Linked DNA regions of Homo sapiens: region 1 is linked to region 2. The links are contacts of gene promoters, found by promoter capture Hi-C in blood cells and fetal thymus (Javierre and others, 2016). All regions are on one chromosome and are shown on one strand. The core of a region is centred on a gene start or on the middle of the fragment in contact, and the rest is flanking DNA. Distances in the headings are between cores, read along the strand shown. Region 1 holds the start of EEA1 (early endosome antigen 1). Region 2 holds the start of CEP290 (centrosomal protein 290).

Region 1 (5,097 bases), core at 1,025-3,524, 4.8 Mb after region 2:
CATGTTTTTCTTTGAAGGACTATTAAGTAAAATATTCAATACATACATATTGGAGCTACTTCACTTTGGTTTTGTTTTGAGGTTTTTTTGTTTTTGTTTTCCAGCTTCTTTCAAGCCTCAGAGAAACACCTTAGTAAGCTAATGAAAAAGGAGGAGCAGGAGGAGGGACAAAAGCAGGAGAACCAGAAACCAAATTTCCGTAAAGTATCCTGAGACTTATTGATGATGTTCAAACACTTTGAGTTCTAATTGATGGTAAGCAGTTTGTCTGTTTCTTCTTTTAAAAAATGCTATTTAAAGGAAACTATTCAGAAGAAAATAAGAATAGTTAAAATGAAAAGTTCATCTAAAAACAAAATGCTAAAGGAATGCCACATAATTTTTTTTTTTTTTTTAGACGGAGTTCCGGTCTTGTTGCTCAGGCTGGAGTGCAATGGAGCAATCTCAGCTCACTGCAATCTCCACCTCCCGGGTTCAAGTGATTCTCCTACCTCAGCCTCCTGAGTCGCTGGGATTATAGGCATGCACCACCACTCCCGGCTAATTTTGTATTTTTAGTAGAGTCAGGGTTTCTCCATGTTGGTCAGGCTGGTCTCGAACTCCCGACCTCAGGTGATCCGCCCGTCTCGGCCTCCCAAAGTGCTGGGATTACAGGAATGAGCCACTGCACCCAGCCAAGGAATGCCACATAATTTCAAAGCACAGAGTCCATTTCAAATAAATCTCTAAATTAACAATAGCTTTAATCTTATAGCTTAATATCTGTGCTGAGAAATAAGATTAGCAGGGAGGGGTAAAATAGGTTGCCATGTTACACAATTTAAAGATTCAAGTTATACTTGTTGGTAAATACCACTTGTAGAGTTAATAAAATATATATTCTACCTTCTAAACTAGTAAATCACCAGATTTAAGACATTTATCAAAATGTCCCTATTAAATACTCAGCATTAACACTGACCCAACTACAAGATAAAAGCTGAACTCCTTCAAAGGGACTCTTACGTCCTCTCACAATTTGGTCTCTAGCCACCACGGTAGCTTCATCTCTTACTAATTGCTACAGACCATCTCACTTCCTAAGCTTCATTGTTCACACTCCTCACAGTACTACCTGCGCCTTTTATGACTCCATCTCTTTGCATTTGCTGTTCCCTCTGCCTGACATGCCCTTCCCTCTTCTGAGCTGTGAATATGCCCCCGTCCCTGAAGCTTTTCCTAATTGCCCTCACCTCCCACAGAGTGCCTCCTGGGTCCTCTGTCCTCTTCATTATTCTATTACATAGCACTGTCATTACTTTTAAATGTTCACCTCCCAAACAGCCTGTGAGTTCTAAAGGGAGGACCCACAGCTTAATCAACTGTTTCCTACCCCTTAGCATGAAGCCTGGCATTTACTGAAACTCAATATAAATACACTGAATAAAAGAAAATTAAGTACTTAACTGTGAGAAACACTTCAAACTTTCCTACTAAAGAGTTAATGCATTTAACACAGTGATTCTCAACCAGAGGCAATTTTGCCCCTAGGGGACATTTGGTAAAATCTGGAGCTATTTTTGGTTGTCACAAGGGGGAAGGGATATAGGGGAATGCTACTGGCATCTAGTGGGGGTAGATGCCAGGGATGCTGCTAACATCTTACAAGGCACAGGGCAGCCTCCCACAACGCAGAATTATCCAGTCACAAATGCCAATAGCGCCGACGTTAAGAAACTCAGTTGTCAACTGACTTATTCAGAAGTGATGATTCAATATCACATCTCTGCAATAACCACAATCAATTTCACTTTTGTAGTTTCAACAGAAGCTTCTTTAACAGTTGATAGGTATGCACCAACATTAAAAATGATCTTCATATAATCTCGATGTTTAACTTTAAACCAAGATTACTAGAAAGCATCCCATATTTCTGAAAACCAATCTATAACTACAGCTGAGCTACCCTTAAACCAGTAAACACTTTTATTTGTAAACTTCAAAGCAAACCACAGGCAAACTAATTTTCACTTGCAGAACTATGACAGAAACACAATCTGAAACATGAGGTAATCAGTTCCTCCAGGTCTGATAAAAGAAAAATCTCCTAAAGCCTGAAAGTAAATCATGCACAGATGTCTTTACTGCTGAACTAAGGAAGTGATGGGGAAAGTAAAGGACATGCCCTTGTTACTGCCAAAATCATCGCTTACCGGGATTTCAAAATTCACAAAACACTGCAAAATACAATTAAATGTCAACACAGGTTGTCAGATAAAGAAGTTAACTATTTCTCCCTCTAATAACTGACCAAGTTTCACATGACTTCATTCTTTCAGGAGAAAGCTAGGCAGAAGCAAGAGCACTCCCTTCCTATCTACTGGATGACTCAACTCTCTTCCGCACATTCCTCGGCTGAATCCTACAAATTCACTAATTTCTTTTGTCCTTTGAACTAGTTATCCTACTCCCTCGGTAAAGAACTAATAGGCTCGGCACCTACTTTTCAATCATTTACATTTTGTTACACCCTATCAGCCTCAAAAAGAAAAGAAAAAAGCTATACCAAAAAAAAAAAACAAATTTAAGTTGACAGGTACAATAACTCTTACAGGAAAAGAGATGTGAATTATGTTATTCTAGTAACTGATTCTTAAATGATACACCTACAGTTTTCTAATGCTCTAATCTTTCTATCCTCAAGGTTTTCCAGATTTCAGAGACAGCACAGGCAGAAACTAAGTGTATATACCACTTGATCAAGCTTACTGCGGATTTATTCTTGGATAGCTAAAATAAGGTAGTGGGGCTTGCACAGAAAACATATTTTTAATTAAAAAAAAAGTTTCCAACAGTGAGTAACATCTTCCTTCTCGGCTGACTGTGCCAGTGTCAGTCCCACGCCTGGGCCCAGGCTAGGCCGGGGCTCACCACACCACCCTCCACTGTGGTCCAAAGGAGAAAGCAGGGCCGTGTGTGGCAGGTGCGCATCGTGTCAAATTGGGGGGCACGGGGAGTGCGGCGGGTGGGGAAAGGCGAAGCAAGCCGCCCGAATCTCCCATGGGGCGTTCTCCAGCCCGGCAGGCGGCGGCTGGCCCGTCCCACGGGCACCAACTCTCCATTTTCACTCCCACTCAGGGTTCCCGGGAGGAACGCGCCGGCACCACACCCTCCAGCTCGCAGCCCGCTCGCACACACGGAGCCCCGCGCCGGAGCGGGCGCCAGGCCTGGACGCGCGGGGCCACCAGGGCTCTGCCTGCCGCCCCGCCGCGCCGGCCCCACCCGCCCTCCCCGCCCCCGGGCCGGGCGACCGAGGCCTAAGCGCCTGCCGGGCTGTGGGGCCTAGGGAAGGAAGGAGCCCGCGCTGAGGAGGGGCGCCCGCGCCGCGGCCCCGAGCTCCGGCTGTCCCGCTCACGTGCTGCCAGAAAGACGGTTTCACTCTCTTACCCTCTGTAAAATCCTCCTTAACATGGTTTAACCACCACCCGGCGCCGCCGCGGTGACTCTCCAGACCCTGCGCGGGGCCACTCACTACTCGGGGTGCGCGGGCGGGAGGGACTGGGCCGGGAGGGGACCGGGAAGGAGGTCGGGGCGAGGCGGTGGCGACGGCCGCTCGGGCGGCCCCGACTTCCCCACAGGCGGCGAGAGGGAGCACGCGAGAGAGAGCGAGCGAACGACTAGGCAGCCTGCGAGCGCCTCCAGCCCGCCCGCCGGGCAGCCCCCGTAACTGACAGATGGGCGGGCCCGCCCGCGGCCGCCGGGGGGCGGGGCGGTGGCGGGCCCGCCCCTCGCCTGTCCATTCGCGGGAGGCGGGGCTGAAGGGGGCCGGTCCAGGCCAGCGACCAATCGGAAGCGGTGGCAACGTGGGCGGCTGCGTGACAGACAGGCGGCAGGACGCTGTCGCCGCAGCTTCTTCCGGCTAGCTGGGGGACGCCGAGGCTGCGGAGTGCACGCCTGGGCTCCGTCAGAGGGCCGCGCCCGCGCGACGACCGCGTGCCCGCTAGTGGGAGGCGGGCGAGGACCCCTGGGGGTGTCCCTCCCTGACCCAGGCGGGAGGAGGGGACGCCTTAGGCTGTTTTGTAAAATGTGTCGGTGTGACCCTTCCGGCGATGGCTCCTGACTCGACGTGGTATTGAGCCTGAGCTATATGCTAGTTTCTGCTGGAAACGCTGACTCTGCCTCTTAGCCCCTGGGTTGAAGCCGACTAGAGAATCTCAGACGTGCTTAACCGGTCTGTTGGGCTTCCCTGCCCTTTTCCAGTCCCAGGTTTCCTTTCCCTGCTCCCTTCCTGCTTCTAATTTCAGCCAAAGAGAAAGCAAAGATTTAGAAAAGAAGGGTAGGAAGAAGCTGGAATTTGAATTGGCAAGAGAAGTTTGAGGTTGTCTTTTCTAGATCAAAACAATTTTTAATAGGCTGATGTTCACATGTTGCACTTTCTAAAGCCCGTGCTTGACCTCCTAAGGAATTTTAAGTCCTATTCTGATAATCGATTTATGAAGTAAATTGTCATTAACGCCTCTGTTTTATAGATTAAGAAGAAAATGAGGTCACAGATAAATATCGTGCCAAAACGACGTGGTCTTTGAACTGACCTCCAGGCACGATGTCATTATTTAACTCGAGAAATCACAGCTTCTGCGTCCTACCATTCTGCCAATATTCACAGCCAAGAGGCTCAACTTAACACCCTGGTAGAAAAAGAGAAGCCTTTAATATTGCTTGAATAGGGAAGGAGAGGGAATAATGGAACTAACCTTGCTGGGAGGGAAAAAAAAAAAAAAAGAAAAAACCAACAGACCACTGAATGAAGCCTATGAAGCAATGAATGGAGTGCTTTTTGGAAAGCACTTCCAGATCTTTTGAAAAGCAGCACAAAATTAAATATTATTTGCAAATCAGTTAATGAATAGGAAAATGTTTTGTAAAGTATAATGCATTATATAATGTAATATGATATTTCTATCCCAAATATATTTGGTTTTTTATTATGTGTGTGTGTGTCTCTCGATGGTGCAGCAGCACGGTCATGCCTACAGCTAATATATGAGTAATCACTAGTGATAATGCACTTACAAAGAACATACTTTTCCATCTTTCTAAACATGAGGTGCTTTATTT
Region 2 (5,037 bases), core at 1-2,500:
TTTTTAGTGGTGATGTAGATATTACCAGGTATTTTCACAAAGATTACCTTATATAAGAACAGATTTTTATAGTTCCACTAATAGCCAAACCTATAGTTAAAACCTACTACATACAAACCTTCATTAGTGACTGAGTAATTCTGAAAAGGTGTATCACATTTTCTTGCTTTTCACTTTTTAGCTCATTTACTTCCACCTAAGTAAACAGAAAAGCAACTGTTTTATATTTTATAACCTTCAAGCAAAATATAAGAACACTTCCAGATTGTGACAATTATAGTTGTCCCTGAAAAAAATAAATTCATATTTTATTAATAAATTAATCATAAGTTAATGTATATATCTATTATTATTGACCAATTAAGCACCTTGGATAAGGAAATCAATAAATTATCTGCCAGTTCTTCTTGACGGGGCAGGTCATCTGGGTCAACTTTCATTATTTCTTTCCAGTTTATATTAGGTGGCATCTTGAATTCTTTCACTGTGCTCCACCTCTGTAACAAAACAGGTGTATATTAGCATTTTCAAGGTACACAGTATTATTGGTTTTCTAGCACCTTACATTTTTTGCAGATTATTTCATTATAACTTTCTGATGTTAGCAAAACAGACAATTGGGCCACAAAATAGACAAGTGGGCAAAATAGCCTTGATCAAAAATAGCAGTCGGCACAAACTGTCAGAGTGTCCCGGCTAAATAAAATGTGACGGCTTCCTTGCTAACACTAATCTAAGTTAATACTTAAGATTTCTGGATCCCTTCCTCCACACCCCTACCCACAATGCGCGCGAACACCCTAATCCTGGCAAGCGCGAGGGTCTGTGGAAGGCCGACAATCATCCCTGATTTGGAGAAACAGAATTGGGGCTGAAAAAAAACGCAGAAATTAACATTTGGAATGAGTGAAGTTGTGCGGCGGAAACTGGAACCGAAGCAAGGCAGTATTAGGGACCCGAGGCTGGAAGGGCGGGGTAGCTATGCTGTGGCACACGGGCCCTCAGGCTAAAGAACCTGAGCGTGGAGTGACTCGCTAATCCTGCTTACAAGGATCCACCCACCTAGACCAAGCCTGGCAACCAGCGGAGGCCTCTCACTACCGCAACCACCAAGCTGGACCCGGCCGCGGGCCCTGACAGATCCCTATCGCGGTTCCACGCGGACTCTGGGTCCAGCCAAATGGTCCCGAGCAAGCCAAAGCGGCAGCGGCTGCTAGGCGACACCATCCCCAACTCCGCCAAGGCCAGAATAAGATCCCGGATGCCAGGAGAGCCTACAGTTCACGACCGTGGGTGATGCTTTACGTTTAGATTCTCCGCCGGAGTCCCAGAGCTCGGTGTTCAGGATGATGAGAAGGCGTGGAACGAGGACTTCAAATCCCAGAGTGCAGTTCTGCCTGAGGCTTCTGCATGCTGGGAACTGAAGTCCCTGAGAAGAGGAGGTAAGGCGCTCCCGGCATGCAACGCGTAAGACTGCGACGGTACCGGGGCGGCGGGGAAGGACCGAGAGGCGGGAGGAGCAGCGGCTCAGGCGCCTGCAAACTGGTGGCCTGAACGAGGTAGACCATGACTGTGGTTTCAGTGGCGTCACTCGCTGGGCTGCTCTTCCTGAGGTTTTCCTAAGCCATCCCCTGGCGGAACCGCCCCCAGGTGAGGTCGAGCTGTCGGTCAGCATATTGGGAGGAATTGAGGGGAGCAGTCCTGGGTTAGAGAAGCTTCTGCTATTGGGGCCGTAGGGCCTGGTCCCATTCTGAAAAAGTGGGAACACCCTGCCTTCTCTTCAGGCGTTTGCAAGCGGCGTCCAGGGTAGTGCCTTCTGTAAGAAGGAAAAAACAAAAAGTTTTAGCCTTGTTTAGTATCAGAATCTGTCTTGATAGTTAGAGTGAGAGCCGCGCAGCCGTGATCCTCGTTTGGGGGCGAGCGAAGAATTGACAAGAGGTCTCGGCATCCCGACCCCGCCCGCCTTACCTGTAGCACCATTCCTTTCGCGGATCGTGGGGCTTGATGGTTGTGGAGCTAGTATAAAGTCAAGGCTCTAGAGAGGAGAGGTTAGTACTTGTCCGGACCACTGCCGGGGGTGGAGAGAGAAGGGATCCAAGGACTCACCTGTACTATTGTTGCCACTTGCTTGGTTACCTAGGGTGCCCTTCCATGAAAGCGCCTTCTCTGGTGTTTACCACTCTTACTCGTGCAAGTTTTGCTCATCCTGCTCGTCTGCTCACAATCATGCTGGAGTATGATACATCTCTACCTAACTTTCCTAAGAAGCTGTAGACTTAAATCTAAATGACATTTCCAACTATCTGGACCAGTGCTTTGTCTTTTTTTTTTTTTAAACGCTGCTTTAAAAAAAAAATTACTGTACTTGACAGTAAATTTTCCTTTCGAAAATAAGTAATGAGTTTCTTTTTAAACCCCCAATTTGGGTAAAATAAGTAGCTCAGTACAAAATAAAAAGATACTGATTTTGTGAGATGAATTTTAAAGACATTAGTTAGATTTATAGGAATGACAATTTTACTACTTTTCTGAAAGATTATATGCCAAATACTATTCATTATCTTGTTTATTCTTCCTTACAATCCAGTGAAATAGGTGCTTACATTGTCCTCATTTTCCATCTGAGTTAAGAAACTGAGGCTTGGAGAAGCTAAGTAACTTAAATAGTGTGATTGAACACAGATCTCTCTGGCTGGAGGACATATTCTTAACTTCTATACACCTCCTCAGACATTCTGGGAAACCAATATTTGTGAAGTGCTTGTTCCTCAATCTTGCTATTTTTATTAAATGTTATATTTTAATTTTGTAAGTGTTTACTCAATAATTTGAATTAAACATTCTTCATGTTCAGTGTTCTTAATTCATAATTTAACATGGGATGGTGTTTCTGGAAAGGTGTTCTGATCTGGACCCCAGGAGAGGGCTCCTGGATCTCGCCAAGAAAGAATTGGAGGTGCATACACCCCCATTGGAGGTGGTAGACTAAGGATTGTTATAGTTATTTCTTGATTATATGCTAAACAAGGGGTGGGTTATTCATGAGTTTTCTGGGAAGAGGGTAGGCCATTCCTAGATCTGAGTGTTCCTCCCCTTTTTAGACTATATAGAGTAACTTCTTCACATTGCCATGGCATCTGTAAACTGTCATAGCACTGGTGGGAGTGTCTTTTAGGATGCTAATGCATTATAATTAGTGTATAATGAGCAGTGAGAACGAGCAGACGTCCCACCTTTCTCGCCATCTTGGATTTGGTGGGATTTGGCTGGCTTCTTTACTGCATGCTGTTTTATCAGCAAAGTCTTTATGATCAGTATCTTGTGCCCACCTCCTATCTCATCCTGTGACTTAGAATGACTGACAGACATCCTGAGAATGCAGCCCAGTAGGTCTCACCCTTATTTTACCCAGCCCCTATTCAAGATGGAGTTGTTGTGATTCAAATACCTCTGACAATGGTAGGAATGAAATTTAATAGTTACTGAGCACATGTTATGTCATACACTATGCTGACTACTGCGTGTTTGTTTTCATAATAGAAGTCTGTTTTCTCTAACACCTTTTCTTCTGTTTTTTTTTTCATTCGTTATAACTTATTTTTATGTATTCACTTACAAGTTTCGTTTGTCTGTATTACTCTTTTCTACCCTTCTGCCACCACCCTCTTGCTCACATTCATAAACTCAAGGTGCCTGGTCTCTAATGGTAAATTTTATTCTAATTTTTCAGAAGTGAGAACAAGTTCATAGAAGTTAAGTAATAATTGATGAAGCTAAGATTGTAACCTAGATCTCAGTGACAATTGTAACTAAAAGCAAAATCTTACCTAAATTTTATTCTTTAACTCATTCTAACAGTATTTTTTATCCTGTTTCCTGTGCTAGGCACTGGGGATACAGCAGTGAACAAGTCAGCTCTGGCTTGAACAAGTCAACTAAGTTTTTATGCATTGTCGTCTGTACCTAAGTGTGAGTCAGGAAATTTAACTCAGGTTCTAGTTCAATAACTCACTGTATATTTTTGAGGAAAATTGGCAAAACTATTATTTTTCGTCAGATTTTCTGCACCTGTCAGTTTTCATCAAGAAATGGGACTTATGTGACAATGTTGTAAGTGGCCTTGTTATAAGAACACTTGTCTGGACCTGCCTTCTTTCTGCCCTAGGCTTTTGTGAACAGTTTTATCTGACCAAAATCACTTCACAAGAAGGCCTCACCTTTTATTATTGCTTACCTTTGTTCTCTGTAGCAATGAATTTATATTCCTTGGATGTTACTTCTAGTTCCTTTTTGCTGACTTACCAAGAAAAGTCATAGTAGCTTACTTCTCCGATCTCTAAAACAAAGCATGGCCATTTTGTATCCATTGTGTGTCCTAAACATTTTGTTTTGCCTTATCTTCATGGCAAATTAAGCCATGGTTAATGGCTTAATTCACACTGACTCCCTACTGATCTTTCCAGTTTCCTCATGTTGAAGGAAGACAAGTATCTGCTTGCTGCACACTCATTCTTGTCCATGAAATTAAGGCAAAACAATTTGCCTTAATACAATTTACAGTTTTATTGAAGGGATTGTATTTAGTTTTGTATATCTATAATGTAGCTCATGAGAAGTCTTTGTGAACCAAAAAGTGTCTAAGACGGGTCTCAATCAATTTAGAAGTTTATTTTGCCAAGGTTAGGGACATGCCGAAAAGAAATAAACACTGAATCACAGAAACAGTCTGTAGTCTCTTCCTTTCTCTAAGATGATTTTGAGGGCTTCAGTATTTAAAGGGGAAAAATCCATTGGAAGAGAAAAAGGGTAGATATGGTAATCTATGTGTTGCAAGAGAAAAAGAGCAGAGAGGGAAATAGATATTATGTATTCACGTGGGGTGGTAAATCAGCACTTTACGTGAGATAAGATGAATGTCCTAAAGTAGCTACCTGTGGAGATATTTAACATTTGATGTGTAGCTGTCTGCTAAGAACAAAAGGAGAGCAGTTTCTTGCATGACTCAGCTTTCACCCTAATTTTTTCTTATAGACATAA

The links. The method cuts DNA at HindIII sites, captures the fragments that hold promoters and counts their contacts. A CHiCAGO score of 5 or more calls a contact.
Region 1: a contact is called between a fragment that was not itself captured here and the fragment with the promoter of CEP290 in region 2, in 1 of 17 cell types (total CD4 T cells). The highest score is 6.2, in total CD4 T cells.

The regions. Positions count from the first base shown.
Region 1 is chr12:92,925,617-92,930,713 of GRCh38, forward strand. It overlaps EEA1 (early endosome antigen 1), which reads right to left and starts at 3,679. Exons shown (of 29, transcript NM_003566.4): 1 at 3,427-3,679. The coding sequence starts at 3,450. RefSeq lists an enhancer at 1,839-1,968 and a silencer at 3,069-4,148. The HindIII fragment of the contact is 933 bases long and covers 1,809-2,741 here.
Region 2 is chr12:88,140,838-88,145,874 of GRCh38, forward strand. CEP290 (centrosomal protein 290) reads right to left here and starts at 1,251. Exons shown (of 54, transcript NM_025114.4): 1 at 1,063-1,251; 2 at 369-497; 3 at 119-196. The coding sequence starts at 470. It overlaps TMTC3 (transmembrane O-mannosyltransferase targeting cadherins 3), which reads left to right and starts at 1,470. Exons shown (of 14, transcript NM_181783.4): 1 at 1,470-1,650. RefSeq lists enhancers at 1,091-1,530, 1,337-1,840. The HindIII fragment of the contact is 8,380 bases long and covers 1-1,713 here.